Regions from separate parts of the Homo sapiens genome. Here regions 2 and 3 are each linked to region 1. The links are contacts of gene promoters, found by promoter capture Hi-C in blood cells and fetal thymus (Javierre and others, 2016). All regions are on one chromosome and are shown on one strand. Each heading gives the region's core, a stretch centred on a gene start or on the middle of the fragment in contact. The rest is flanking DNA. Distances are from core to core; before and after follow the strand shown. Region 1 holds the start of ST3GAL6-AS1 (ST3GAL6 antisense RNA 1). Region 2 has its middle 17 kb from the start of CPOX. Region 3 overlaps CLDND1 (claudin domain containing 1).

Region 1 (4,839 bases), core at 1-2,500:
ACCTCGTGATCCGCCCGCCTCGGCCTTCGAAAGTGCTGGGATTACAGGTGTGAGCCACGGCGCCCGGCCATTTTTTTTTTAAAGTAAGGTTGGGAAAACAACAAATGATACCTCCTAGGGCTGTTATTACAATTAAGACAAATACCAGAGCACTTTGGCAGGTGGAGGCGAGCGGATCATTTGAGGTCAGGAGTTCGAAACCAGCCTGGCCAACATAATGAAACCTCATCTCTACTAAAAATACAAAAATTAGCTGGGAGTGGTAATCCCAGCCTGTAATCCCAGCTACTCGGGAGGCTGAGGCAGGAGAGTCGCTTGAGCCTGGGAGGCAGAGGTTGCAGTGAGCCAAGATCATGCCCCTGTACCCCAGCCTGGGTGACAAAGCAAGATTCTGTCTCAAAAAAAAAAAAAAAAAAAAGGACAAATACCAGAAAGCCCATCACAGATGAAGGACTTTGTTCCAGTTCGTGACACATTGCCAACTTTGAATTACATCCAAGTCCGTGGGTCTTCTCTCTGGGGTCAATTGATGGCACGTGATTACACTGCTCAGGGCCCAAAGGTTGGAGCTATGACTTGAATGTTTCTAGACAAGGAATTATTTGACAAACACACTTTAAAAAGTATTCAGAGCCATCCAAGTAAGAGGACATTAATAACGTAGGGTTTTGCCTATGGAGAGAAAAGAAAACGCAAACAGCACGTTCCACCTTCGTTCTCCCTAAAGTAATTTATCTCCTTCAAAAGATAAAAAGTACGAACACATTTGCCCTTGAAGGGCAGAGCCCCGGAATTCAGGAGCTCTCTGAACACTCCTCCCCTTCTGATAGGGACCAAACCTTCTGCTGAGCCTTGTGTCACAGTCAGTCCGCGGCGCCACAAGCCTCAGTGTTTACTTCTGCCGCCTGCCAGCCGGGCGGGGAAGGGGAGTACCCGGCCACCCCTCACTTTAGCTCCTGCAGCTTTCCAAACAAACCAGGGCGGGATGGGAGTGTCTTCTTGGCTGTGGAAATCGATCCTCCTACCTTGTCCTGAAGCCACCCGCCGCCTTTCCTCGTCCCTCCCTTCGCGGTGATTTTCCGGTCCCGGCGCCCGGCGAGGGCGCGCGGCTGGTGTCCGCCCCGCCCGAAAGGTAGGGGTTCGGCTGTGCTCCCGCCTGGTCCCCAACGCCTCACCCTCCGGGAGACCCGCAGCCTCCCACCACTTTGCACCTTCCTCCTCGAATTTGGGGGCGGCCACCGTGCAACTGGCGCCAGCCGCGGAGCAGGAGGAGCTTCCCGCGACTCCGGAGGCGCTCGGCGCAGTCGCCCGGGATTGGGGCTGGCGGGAGCCTGAGACTCCGGGCAGGGCTGCTCCCTCCTCTGCTCCCCCGCCAGATCCGCGGGGAAGGAATCGTGCCCGCGCCGCCCCTGGCCCGCGCCACCTTCCTTTGGTTTCTGCCGGCCTCGGGCTTCTGCGGCCCGATGTGGCAGGCGCCGCGAGAGAGGCAGCAGCCGGCTGGAGCAGCGGCCCCTCAGGTCTCGGAGCCCGGTGCGCCTCTGCGGTCGTCGCTCCTGGGCCTCGGCGGGTCACTCTTGCCGGCCGGCTTCGCTGCGGGTTTGCACTGCCCGGGTGAGGGAAATTGGGGGTGCGGGAAGACCGGTCTGGGCCGGGGTCCGGGCGGCCTGGGGTCTGTGCTGCCCCGACCCTCCGGCTTTGCAGCCTCTGAGGCTCAGGGTTGGGGGTGGGGACACGGAGCGCTGTTTGCCCCTCCACATATCCTGCCAGCACCAAGGAGGTGGCGTGCGGAGGCGTAAAGGGACCATGGGCGCTGGGACCCGCGAGCCAGCCGGCGTGCGCCGCAGCCACCGCCGAGAGGGCACCCGGGGATCCTGGAGCCCCAGTGAAGGGCGGGAGGGACGCGCAGCCTCGCGGGTAAGCCCAGGAGCCGTGGGGGCCGAGAGAATCTGCTCTGGGACCCTCTTTTGTCGAATCGCCGGCGAGGTTGTGCAATTGGGAAGCCAAGAGGAGTGTCCAGCTCCTCGTTCACTATTGTTTTCTTGTAAAAGGGTCTGTACGCGAGGAGGGTTGAGGGGTCTGGAAGGTTCTGGTCTCTTACCGTATAAAGTTTTTCGAGAAACCCTTTTTCCCTCCACAATGGAACTAGACCTAACAAAACAAGCTCCGAGGCAGTTTAGGAGAAAGGAGGACGGTGAGTAAATTGCAGTGTTTGGGCTGCTGTTAATTTTCAAGATAAGGGAGAAGCAACTTGTCATTTTGAGGCCGCCGGCTCCGGAGATCCCGGCAATCTCAAGCCTCTTTCTTGTGTGCTGTTATTTTGGCTTAAAAGAAAACCTATAAAAAGCGACGCCCAGAAACCAAAAACAAACCCAAAGCACCTTCTTTTAGGATTTTTCAGTAGCGAGGGTTGGCGGGGACAGTGGGGAGGAGCAGGAGGGGGAGAAGAGGTTGCTGTTGAAAGGTAATGTTTAAAAACAGTGTGTGGGGGTAGGGATGAAAATAACGTGGTGACTGCTAGTGTATCAGAAATCACACCGAGTCTAAAGTCGTAAGTCCCATTTGCCTTACGAGGACCAGCTGGGTGCTGTGAGTAGGTGGATAGTTAAGGAAACTGTAGATCTGCTGAAAGCTCCTCGTGGTCTGTGGTCTCGTGTCCACGCTGACCTTTGAACCTCGTAACTCTTCGGGTCTCCAGCGGCCACCTCTTTTAGGCTAGCCCGAATGTTTGACTTTCCGGTCCTCAATCTTCCTCACCTAGCTGCAGACCATAAAACTGTCTTTTTATTTACAGGGAGATGTTAAATATTTGGGAACATCTGCTCAGGCTGCCAGGTTATTTTCCGTTTGAAAGCATGCCGATTTGACATTTGCAAGTTGGTTTATGTTGCTTCCTTTTTGTTTCACTAAGAACGCTTTTCATACCAAGATCTGCGAAAAACGATGCCCTTAGACTGTTATTTAGTTTATTGTCTCTGAGTAAGGCCAAATTCCACAGAGGGTCTTTGGATAATGGCAACTTTGCTTATAAGAAGATAATTTTTCTAGAAAGTGTTGCATTGGTCTGGTTTCCTAAGCTGTTCTTGTGGTCATGTAGACTGGGAGGGGAGATCTTCATTCCTTGTGATGTCGCTTTCCTTGAATTGTATTTTTACTATAGTTCCACAATGTCTCAGTCCCAGATTGCACCATATGTTGTTTACATGGTGCAGTAAAATGGGACTGCAATTTTGACTACATTTCAGTAGATTTGTTGGAGATAGTTTGTTCTTATGCCCTATATCAATAATAATAATAAAAAACCTTTGAGGCTCAAGAATAGACAGTATTGACAGAATAATACCATTAAGAGACATACCATTTAAAAACATTAGTCTGTCTCCTGTGAAATTGTAAATCGTAGGTGTTCTCATTCAGTGGCAGACGACTGGATTTCACAGCAGTTTTCTTCTGTTGGAGACATTTCTGTGTTCCACATCATGTGGAACCTTATGGGAGAAGACGTGAGTAATGCCATGTTTCCCGCATTTCCCTGATAAGCATCATCTGCTAACCATGCAGACTGCCAGATGGCTTCCATGGAAATTGTGCTTCCATCCAGGAGTGGTGACCAGAGATCTGTTTAGTATGCATTTTAGGTGATGCTTATTGAGAAGGTGAAGGAAGCATGGAACTCCTATTTGGCACCCACTCTGATTTTTGGTGTGTTCTCATATGCTATTTTATTTAATCTTCCTGACAAAACTCCTGCAAGAAAGGAATTTTTAGCCCCATTTTATAGCTTAAAAAACCAAGATTGCCTTAGGTTGAGTTGCAGTGGCTCACATAAAGGTTTGACTCTACCTCTGCCTACACCATCCCAGGAATCCTCTGCAGTATACATTCTGCACAAATTCTTCCATTTCCTGTGCATATCTTTCTCCTTTGCCTGGCATATCCTCCATTTATATATACCTTGGTCTGAATATGCCTTTCTAGTTATCCCCAGGCTGGGCTTTTTGAATAGGTGGTCTGCGTACTTTGCCTTCCTTGTGACAGCTTTAGACTTTCACCAGCCAGGAACCTTCTATCTTCTGCACATCTCTGATGTGTCACTTAGGTGATCAGGGTCTGGCGAAATCTAGGAGTTTATGCTGTCTTCAATGGGCATATTCCAAAAGTTCTTTCCTTTCTGAATACATTTTCACTGAAGCTCCTACTCAAGCTATATGTTACCTGGAAGAGGTTTTCCCAGGGTTACATCCCCACCCTCACAGTTGAAATGAAACATTCTCTCCTGTCTGTCCCAACTGTGATGGATAATAGCACACATCACACATCACAGTTTCCAATTTAACCCTTAGGGGTTAAAATGGATTTTGATTTGGAGTGAGCTTGATGCATGGAATAGAATGTATACATTGGATATTATAGTGTTTTGGTAGGAAATTTTATTTACAATTCCATATCAGGATGTCAGAAACACAATTCCCTCACCATTGTGGGATAGCTGGAGTTCTTTCCCCTGATGGTGACACCTCAGCACTGAATCAGCTGCAGTGTCTCAGACTTGGTCAGGAACTTGACTGTCGTATAATCAGGCTAAGAAGTGCTGAGATTCTGGCAGTGAGGTTATGAAAGTAAAAGATAACAGGATCAGTAAGACCTGGTTTTCTTCCTTGTGCCCATGTTTGTTTTTCTTGGAGAGCTTTTGGTCATCTAGGAGGATTGTCCAGTTTACCTTTTTACTGCCACAAACTTTTGTATCTGACCAGGGGCCTTCCTCTTCCTGCACCATTGAGATAGAGGGAAAGGAAAGCACCTAGCCCTTAGGAGATTTTCTTAAAAACATTGGAAAGCTGA
Region 2 (4,486 bases), core at 1,648-4,147, 150 kb before region 1:
GTGCTGGGATTAGAGGCATGAACCACCGTGCCCAGCCTGTATTCAGGTAGTATTAATTTAAATGGTCTTTGAGGACATCTGAACTAGTTATTTTTAATAAACTACAGTTTGAACTACAAGAAATTGTGGATTTGTATATTATACTAATGGTTAGAAGAATGTCAAGCAGCAGGTGTGGAACAGATTCTAAAAGCCTGTCTCCCTCATCAAGTCAGAAAATGGAAGCAATCTTGAACCGATCTGAGCATAGATAAATTGCTATAAAGACTTTTATTTATGAAAGCATTATTCACTTGCTATTACATAAGAGGCATTCAGCCAGTACAGCTTTGTGAACTTTGATACCTCTCAACCATCTCATAAGAAAACACATCCATGACAGAGTCAGTGTTGCAACTCTAAATGACTGCAAAGTCAATTTACTTTCCTAAGTGGCTGTATTTGCATCAACCTATTGAAACCATGATGGCTTGGATTATGACAAGTTTTATGTTCAAACGCATTTTGAAATATGAAGGGATTAACAGTAAAAGAATTATTGAAAATACTGTTTGAATGAGCTTAAGATCTAGAATAGAGCTGGCTACACTGATCGGAAGAGGAAATGCAGTTCAACTACCTTGCTCTGCTGGTATATGTTAGTGAATATCCAGTATAAAACCACTTGTAGGCCGGGCACCGTGGCTCATGCCTGTAATCCCAGCACTTTGGGAGGCCGAGGCAGGTGGATTACCTGAGGCAGGATTTCAAGACCAGCCTGGCCAACATAGTGAAACCTTGTCTCTACTAAAAAAATACAAAAAATTAGCCGGGTGTGCTGGCTCATGCCTGTAATCCCAGCACTTTGGGAGGCTGAGGTGGGTGGATCACCTGAGGTCAGGATTTCAAGACCAGCCTGGCCAACATGGTGAAACCTTGTCTCTACTAAAAAAATACAAAAAATTAGCCGGGTGTGCTGGCTCATGCCTGTAATCCCAGCACTTTGGGAGGCCGAGGCAGGTGGACCACCTGAGGTCAGGATTTCAAGACCAGCCTGGCCAACATGGTGAAACCTTGTCTCTACTAAATAAATACAAAAAAATTAGCCGGGCGTGCTGGCACATGCCTGTAATCCCAGCTACTCGGGAGGCTGAGGCAAGAGAATGGCTTGAACCCAGGAGGCAGAGGTTGTGGTGAGCCAGGATCGCACCATTGCACTCCAGCCTGGGCAACAAGAGTGAAACTCTGCCTCAAAAAAAAAAAAAAAAAAAAAAAAAGCAACTTGTAGAAACAGGTCTGTGAGTGCATTATTCTGTTTTCATACTGCTATAAAGAACTGCCCGAGACTGAATAATTTATAAAGGAAAGAGGTTTAATTGACTCATAGTTCAGCATGGCTGGGAGGCCTCAGGAAACTTACAATCATGGCAGAAGGCAAAAGGGAAGCAAGGCACCTTCTTCACAAGGCAGCAGGAAGGAGAAGTGCTGAGCAAAGAAGGGAAGAGCACCTTATAAAATTATCAGATCCTGTGAGAACTCACTCACTACCACGAGAACAGCACGGGGATGGTTTACCCTCATGACTCAATTACCTCCACCTGGTCTCTCCCTTGACACCTGGGGATTTGGGGGATTACAATTCCAGGTGAGATTTGGGTGGGGACACAAACCCTAACCATATCAGTGAGGTTTTATGTTGTACAACTTATGACTTGATTTCAGGTAACAATACAAGGGAATTTAGTCAAGCCATTTACAAATGTCTAAGCGTCACTAACTTAAATGTGCTAATTTAGGTTTATTATGAAATTGGATTGTTATGTGTTTCTTTGGGAAGAAAGATGAAATTTTAAAATGTGAGATTTCAAATACATAATTCATACTTGTGGCAGGGATAATACAATACATCCTTGAAAACAATTTCTAAATGGGCTTTTAGAGATACTGGGAACTTCTGTTTTCACAGACTAGGAATAAGACAGTTATACAGACAACTAAACAACACTAAGCTTGATACTACGATATATTGCAAAACAGTGTTGGAAAACAAAGGTTAACACATCATTCATTAGGTAGCAGGTACTATAAATAAGGAAAGATCCACCTTCAATATTTTGTAATAAGTGGGATGTGGATTGAATGACTGTAAATGGAATATGTTGACAGCAATACTAAAAGTAAAATGTGTTGAAAGGGTAGAAGAGATTGACTCCAAGGAAGGTTTCTTGAAGAAGATTTAAAATGGGCATGGAAGGATGAGCGGGCACATAAGACATTCCAAGCAGAGATAGCAGCAGCCTGAGAAAAGGCCAGAGGGGATATAATTTGGGGGAAGTTCAGGAAAAGTGGTGAGTGGTGAGTATATGGTCTGAGACTGAAGTGCACAGAGAAATGTAGAAGATAAGCCTGAAACACGAGGTAGGAGTTAAATGGTGGATTGCTTGAATGTCAGACTGACTTTAGAATTCTGTCTGGAGAGGAGATTCTTTGACTATTTCAGCAGGGTGGTGATAATGGGACCTAGGAAAATAATTCTGAAGAGAGGGAAAGGTCAGAGTGCCCAGAGGCAGGGAGAGCATTGCAAAAGTTCAGATGAGAAAGTATGTGAGACTAAAGTAGGGTGGTGGCAAAGGGCAGAGGAAGGAAACCAGGAGCCATTTCAAAGGGGGACTCAACAGGAACTAATTAGGGCAATGTGGAGGGTTGAGTCCAATCTATTTCGTGGTTTTGAGTGTGGAAGGCTGTGTGGAGGTTTTGAAGATGACTGGGATCTAATTCCCTACCACTCGAATCTGGAACTGTCCTTAATGACAGACTTGTCAGGAGTCCAGTGGAATGTGAAGAAAGTGACACTACATAACCTCAGTGGTTAGAACAGAAAACCACCATACTGCCTTTGCCTTTTTCCATGGAATTCGTGCTCTGAGCCACCCATAGGCAATGCAGCCTGCAGTCCAAGATGAGCTGAGCCTTTGAGTCATCCTCACCTATGTACAGACATGCAAGTCAAAAACCTGCAGAAGATTCCTGTCTCTAAATATTGTAACAGCAAAAGACACATGGAAGGATAAGTCATAAAGAAACATTTGGCTTTTCAAATCTTGTACTCCTTAGCGTGCAGAAGCACTTATCTCAAATACTCTGCTGACTAGGAGGGTCAGCAGAGTACAGTGATGAACAGAAAATAGTGGTTAAAAATTTGCTCCAGAGAATTGACATTTCTCCCCTCCAGACACCCTTTATTACCATGAACCTGCATGCATAAGACAGTTAGGTGTTCAGGCCATCTGGAGGTGCACTGTGGTCTTCAGGTAGACTGAATTAACACCAGTAAGAAATTGAAAGAGAAATTCACTTTGAATAACAGTAGGATAATCTGTTTTCCAGTAGTTATGCAATTCTTTTCAGACATAGTCTAATCCATAGTAGAAATACGTGGTTATTGAAGAACTGAAAACAAATGCACAGAAAAATTTTATCTTCATTTACCCGCCACAGCTTTAAACACAACTAAATAGGCTAGCATTTTAGCATTATATCATCACTATGTAGTGATTTTCTATTTTTTAAAAGCTAAACTGAGGTTGATCTGAACATTTGTTCCTATATGCCTATATTTTTCCTAGTATTAGATTTATTGAAGTATTATTCACATATACAATAAAATTCCATTTTAAGTTCAGTGAATTTTGATAAATGTATATACAGTCTAGTAACCATCACAATCAAGATGTAAAACATTTAAATCACCTCAAAATACTCTTTTGTCCCCTTTCACAAATCTGCATCCCCTAACCCCTGCCATCCATTGATCTGCTTTCTGTCATTAAAGCTTTGCTTTTTCTAGGTTTTCCTATAATGTAGTCATATAGTAAGTACTTTTATGTGTGGCTTTCACTTGGCATAATGTTTCTGATGTTCACCCATGTTACTGTCATTAGCAATAGTTATTCCTTTTCATTGCTTAGTATTTTAATATACGCATATATCACAAGTTGTTTATCTGCTCACCTGCTGTTAGCCATTTGGGTTGTTTCTAATTTTCAACTATTGAATAAAGCTGCTATGAAAATTGAGTACAAAACTTGTATTTTTCTTGAGTAAAATACCTAGGAATGAGGAACTATGGCATTAGCATAGCTGAGCCTTGAACAACACAGGTTTGAAGAGTTTTGCTTCTTCGCAGATTTTCTTCCACCTCTGCCACCCTTGAGAGAGCAAGACCTACTCTTCCTCTTACTACTCCCACTAAGCCTACCCAACATGAAAACAATGAGGATGAAGACCTTTACGATGATTCACTTCCACCTAATGAATAGCAAATATATCTTCTTTCTTACGATTTCCTTAATAACATTTTCATTTCTTTAGCTTGTAAGAAGAGTATATAATACATATAACATAAAACATGTGCGAATTGACTATGTTATTGGTCAGGCTACCAGTCAACAGGAGGCTATTAGTGATTAAGTTTTGGGAGAGTCAAAAGTTATACAAGGATTTGAAA
Region 3 (4,703 bases), core at 2,045-4,544, 210 kb before region 1:
CACTGTATTTTTCACTTTTTGTAGACAGACACAGTGCAGATACAAACAGCTGCCATATCTCACCTCAGATGAAGCTATGTGTCAATGCTTAGGGAAAATGATCTTAGATAATTTCCCAATTTTATAGAGCTTAAATCTTTGAAAACAGCACTAATACTGCTGGTTGACTGGCTATCTACAACAGCAAAGTGAACATAAAGTTTTGACGATGAGAGGTTTCCCAAAGAAACTAATATAGAGTTTTTAGTTGAACAGATACAGTTACTTTAGTTTTACTGAAAAGTCTAACAGACATTAGCACAACTTGTTTTCGGTCACATTCCTACTCCCAATTTTCTTTCATAAATTTGTGTCAAGTCTCTATCCATTTCTTTCTGTCTAGACCTAGATTAGTTTATTTGAAAGATGGCATCGCTTAAAGTAAACCACATAAATTTTAGTGGTATTAAGTGTGTATTTAGTGGTGAATGTGTATAAATAAAATAGATTTTCATAATAAAATGGTATATCCACAAATAAAAATTAAAAACAATTGAGAGGTGGGGAAAATATCAGTATTATTTTAAAAAAATAAAAATGGCAATTGTAAAGCAGGCAGTTTCTTGCTCATGCCACACGATATGCCTTCATTAAGGTGTACTCTTTCCGGTTGGTGTGAGCAGCCCAGATGAAGAGAGCAGAAGCCATGAACTGTAAGGGAGCAGAGACACAAGCCAGGCAGAAGGACCATCCAAATTCACCGGATACATTGTCAGGGAGCTCTAGTTTCTGGTGGAGTAGTTCAATTCCAGCAACATAACAACTTACTGAGCCCAGTGTACACAGACCTTGGGGGAAAATTTAGAAAACAAAACAAAACATGGCTGGATAAAAGCACAGTAAAGAGCTTTTCAGGCAATGTGACAGGGCAGTTAATACGTGAACATTTCAGATTTATAACTCTTTGGTCCCTAAAGAGACAGGAAGAAGCTAAAAGGTAAGTATGATGACAAAACCTACCTGCAAGGAGATGGAGAATGCCCGTGGCAATGGTGGGATATAAGCTTCGGCAAATGCAAGCACAAAGTCCGATCAAAGCCCCAAAGCACATCAAACCTAAACTCACAAAAGGTAAAAGGAACTGGCAACGCCAAAGATCTGATTTTTAAAAAGAGAGAAAAGAAATGTTACCGTGATTTCAGACCATTTTCCCCGCAATGGCAATTTCTTTCATATTCTAATTAGATCTTTTCTCAAAAAGTGTGAAAGTATTTTAACATTGAGGCCTCTTTTCTAAAGCACATTATTCAAAAGGATGCTACTCTTGTCCTGATAAAAGTAAAAGGACACTAACAGGTAGTAGCAATTACTGAGGGTTCACTATGTTCCATGCTATGTTTGTCTACACATTTTCTGTATTAATCCTCCCAACAACCCTAGAAAGTAGGTACAGTCAGCCCTCCATATCTGCAGGTTTCACATCCGCAGATTCAACTAACCAAGGGTTAAAAATATTCAGAAAAAAAAATGATACAAATTTACAAATATATAGTATAACAACTATTTACATAGCATTTATATTGTATTGGGTATTATAAGCAATCTAAAGATGATTTAAAGTATACAGGAGGATTGTGTAGGTTATATGCTAATATTATGCCATTTTATATAAGGTACTTTAGCAACCTTGGAATTAGCAGGGGGTCCTGAATCCAATCCCCCATAGCTACAGCTGTATTATTATTAATTCCATTTTGTAATTAAGGAAACTGAGGCAAGAGTCATAAATAACTTGTAAAAATAACACAGTAAGTGGTAGAGCCAGGATTTGATACAAAAATCAGTCTGACTCTACCTACCAACAATATCTAGGTCTTTATATGATCTAAAGGCAGTAACAACAAGTAAATTAATGGTAATTATAAATGACCTGTCTTATAGGGCTGTTGAAGAATATATATAAAGCACAAAGCAGAGAATCTAAAGGTAGTTTTAATTATCATAAATCTCTCATCAACATGGGAAGAAAACCTGATGACCTCACAAAACATGCCATTCCATTTTCCAATAATATTCATTATTAGAAATGCATTCATATCAATCTTGACTAAACTTTACACCTTTTGGTGCTGGTTTTGCTTTCTGGAACTTCTTATGTGTTTTTCTAACTTACTTTCTTTCAAACTCTCCTAGTAATAAACTGCTTGCTACACATTCTCTTTATAAAACTGAATACCTACCTCTTATTCAACCTTTTCTCTTACAACATGGTCATTCTTCTGGGCAAGTCCCTATAGCCCTGAAAACTGAGGCTCAAATCTGAAGACAGTATTTCATGGGCTGCCTGACCATCAGGGAATAGGTTGTTCCTAATAAATACTTTCATCTTTTTTGACATCTACCCTTTTGTTACTATCACCTAAGACTGGATAAACACTTTTGACAGGCCTGACAACTCACTGACTCATTTAGAGCTTGCAGTAAACTTTTTTCACATATACTTACCTGAACTCAAGCAGTGGAAAGTGTTTAATTCAAATATAGGAATGTATAAGTTATCTCAACTAAATTTCCTTTTACTAAATGGGCCCATTAATAACATCTTTTGAAGGTCTAGATCCCATCATCCAATGAAGTAGTTGGCCCTGTCAACTTCAAATCATTTGAAATTTGGTAAGCATGTATCTACCTTCTAAAATATCAACAGAATAGAGTTCACTGGATACTGTTAGAGATTTTATTTCACGTTGGCACAATCTACTAACTCATCTTATTCCAAAAACATAGTCCAAAAAGAGACAAATAAAATTATCTTTGTTCCCCCAACTGTCCTGGTGAAATCAAAGTACTCACAGGTCCTAAGGAGATCAATCCCGCTATTGTGGTTTCCGGGATCAACAAATTTCTCCATGAACTGCTCAGTTAGTGTGAAACTCACACATTTTGTGACCACATCAAATGACTCTGGAACAAGAACAATTGCCTGTTGTTTTAATTATAAACATTTAACAAAAATCTCTTTCAGTAATTATTCTCTGAAGTAAAACAGTAAAGGATGTTTCCAGAGGGGTCAGCAACTTCTCTGGCCCTGACTGACACACAGGTTTCATAGATGTCCAATGGATGCCACTGGTTCTCAGTGGCAGGCTGAAGACATAGGCACAAGGAAGAAAAATAAAGTGGAAGCAGTAAAATGAATGGCAGAATAGCTATGTAGAAAGCCTAGGAAGAAGGGGAGGGAACAAAGACTGAAATAAATAGGAATGTTGATCTTCTCATGCAACCGTGCTTTATCAACCATATTCCCATCTCAGGGAATGCCAAATCCACACTTCCAGTTCCTCAGACCAGAAACTTTAGAGTAATTCTTGTACATTTACACTCCATCAGGAAATCCCAGGAATTCTTCCTTCAAACTATGTCCAGAATCCAGCTGCTGCTCAGTGCTACCATTCTGGTGTGAGTCATAATCATCACTTAACCTGAATTACTTCTATAACCTCCTAACCATAGTCTTCTAGTTTCCACCTTTGTCTGCTGCCTCTGTTCTCACAACAGCCAGGGTGACCAGATCAGGGCTCAGCACTGTATCTGGAGTCAACACCAAAGTTCTCATTCTGCCTAGAGTCCTCCAGGATTTGCCCCAGTCCCACTCCCAAAGTAGGTCTTTAACAGCATACCCAACTTCCCGTCTCTCCCTCCATTCCAGCCCAGTGGCTTCCTTACTGGTCCTTGAATATTTCAGGCATGCTCCCGCCATAGAGCCTTTGCAGTAGATGTCCTTTCCAACCTAAATGACTTCCTCCCCATTTACCCATATGGCCAACTCTTTTGTCTAGTCTTTAACTACATTCTTTACTCAAGTGGTGTCTTCTCAATGAGACCTACTTTAAGTATCCTATTGAAAATCATAACCTATGGCCACCAATATTCCTTTTCCCACATATTTCCAAATCCCTTTTGTGTTCTATTTTGCCATAGCACATGTCATCTTTTAACATACTGAATAATTATTTATTCTGTTTATACTGTTATATTCTGTTCACTGCCTGTCATCCTTTATTAGAATGCTAGCTCCCCAGGAGTAAGGATTTTGTTCTTTCCTGATGTTCTCCCAGCTAAGAGGCCCTGGAACATGGAGACATGCAATAAATTATTTGTTTAATGAATGACTAAATGGTAACACTCCAATTCCAACTCCAATTTCAATATCAAGTGCTCCTGTAACCTCATAAGTCAAACTGAACATTTTACAATGAATTTTAACCAACTTTCTCTCCTTTCCTTCCAAATTATCTTTTTTTCCAGATACAGTGACATATTATCATCCTTTTGATATATCATAACTCAAGCCTGTTCTGCTATGATTTGAATACAATGCTTCCCCACTAAGGGGCCAACAGAAGTAGTCATAAATAAACTGTAAAGTTGTTCCTTACAAAGAGTTCTAAAGCTACCATTTTAATAACTGGAAATCAAAATCTTTAAGTGTTAAATAAGAATGCCTGTAAAATAAACCTAAAAATCTAGTTTTTGGTTTTTTTTTTTTAACTTCTGTAATACAAATTTCTTAACCTACCAACTCTGCATCAAGATTGTTGTAAAACAGTCTCATAATTACACAGATTAAATGTAGAGCTGGTCAAATTATATCCTCTAAGACACAGGGGCAAATGATAGATATGTATTATAATACAGCTAACCCATAAAAGGACAATTTTTTG

What was found. The method cuts DNA at HindIII sites, captures the fragments that hold promoters and counts their contacts. A CHiCAGO score of 5 or more calls a contact.
Region 2: a fragment that was not itself captured here is called in contact with the fragment with the promoter of ST3GAL6-AS1 in region 1 in 1 of 17 cell types (neutrophils); the score reaches 5.9 in neutrophils.
Region 3: a fragment that was not itself captured here is called in contact with the fragment with the promoter of ST3GAL6-AS1 in region 1 in 1 of 17 cell types (neutrophils); the score reaches 8.2 in neutrophils.

The regions. Positions count from the first base shown.
Region 1 is chr3:98,731,401-98,736,239 of GRCh38, forward strand. ST3GAL6-AS1 (ST3GAL6 antisense RNA 1) reads right to left here and starts at 1,251. Exons shown (of 5, transcript NR_046683.1): 1 at 1,026-1,251. It also overlaps a transcript of ST3GAL6 not described here. RefSeq lists enhancers at 717-1,465, 1,466-2,213. The HindIII fragment of the contact is 17,493 bases long and covers 1-4,839 here.
Region 2 is chr3:98,574,842-98,579,327 of GRCh38, forward strand. It overlaps a transcript of CPOX not described here. Among named protein-coding and RNA genes, the nearest start is that of CPOX, 17 kb to the right of the region's middle. The HindIII fragment of the contact is 1,823 bases long and covers 1,987-3,809 here.
Region 3 is chr3:98,516,053-98,520,755 of GRCh38, forward strand. It overlaps CLDND1 (claudin domain containing 1), which reads right to left. Exons shown (of 5, transcript NM_001040181.2): 3 at 2,833-2,943; 4 at 1,000-1,137; 5 at 1-827. The coding sequence ends at 607. Among named protein-coding and RNA genes, the nearest start is that of CLDND1-AS1, 4.2 kb to the right of the region's middle. The HindIII fragment of the contact is 4,507 bases long and covers 1,042-4,703 here.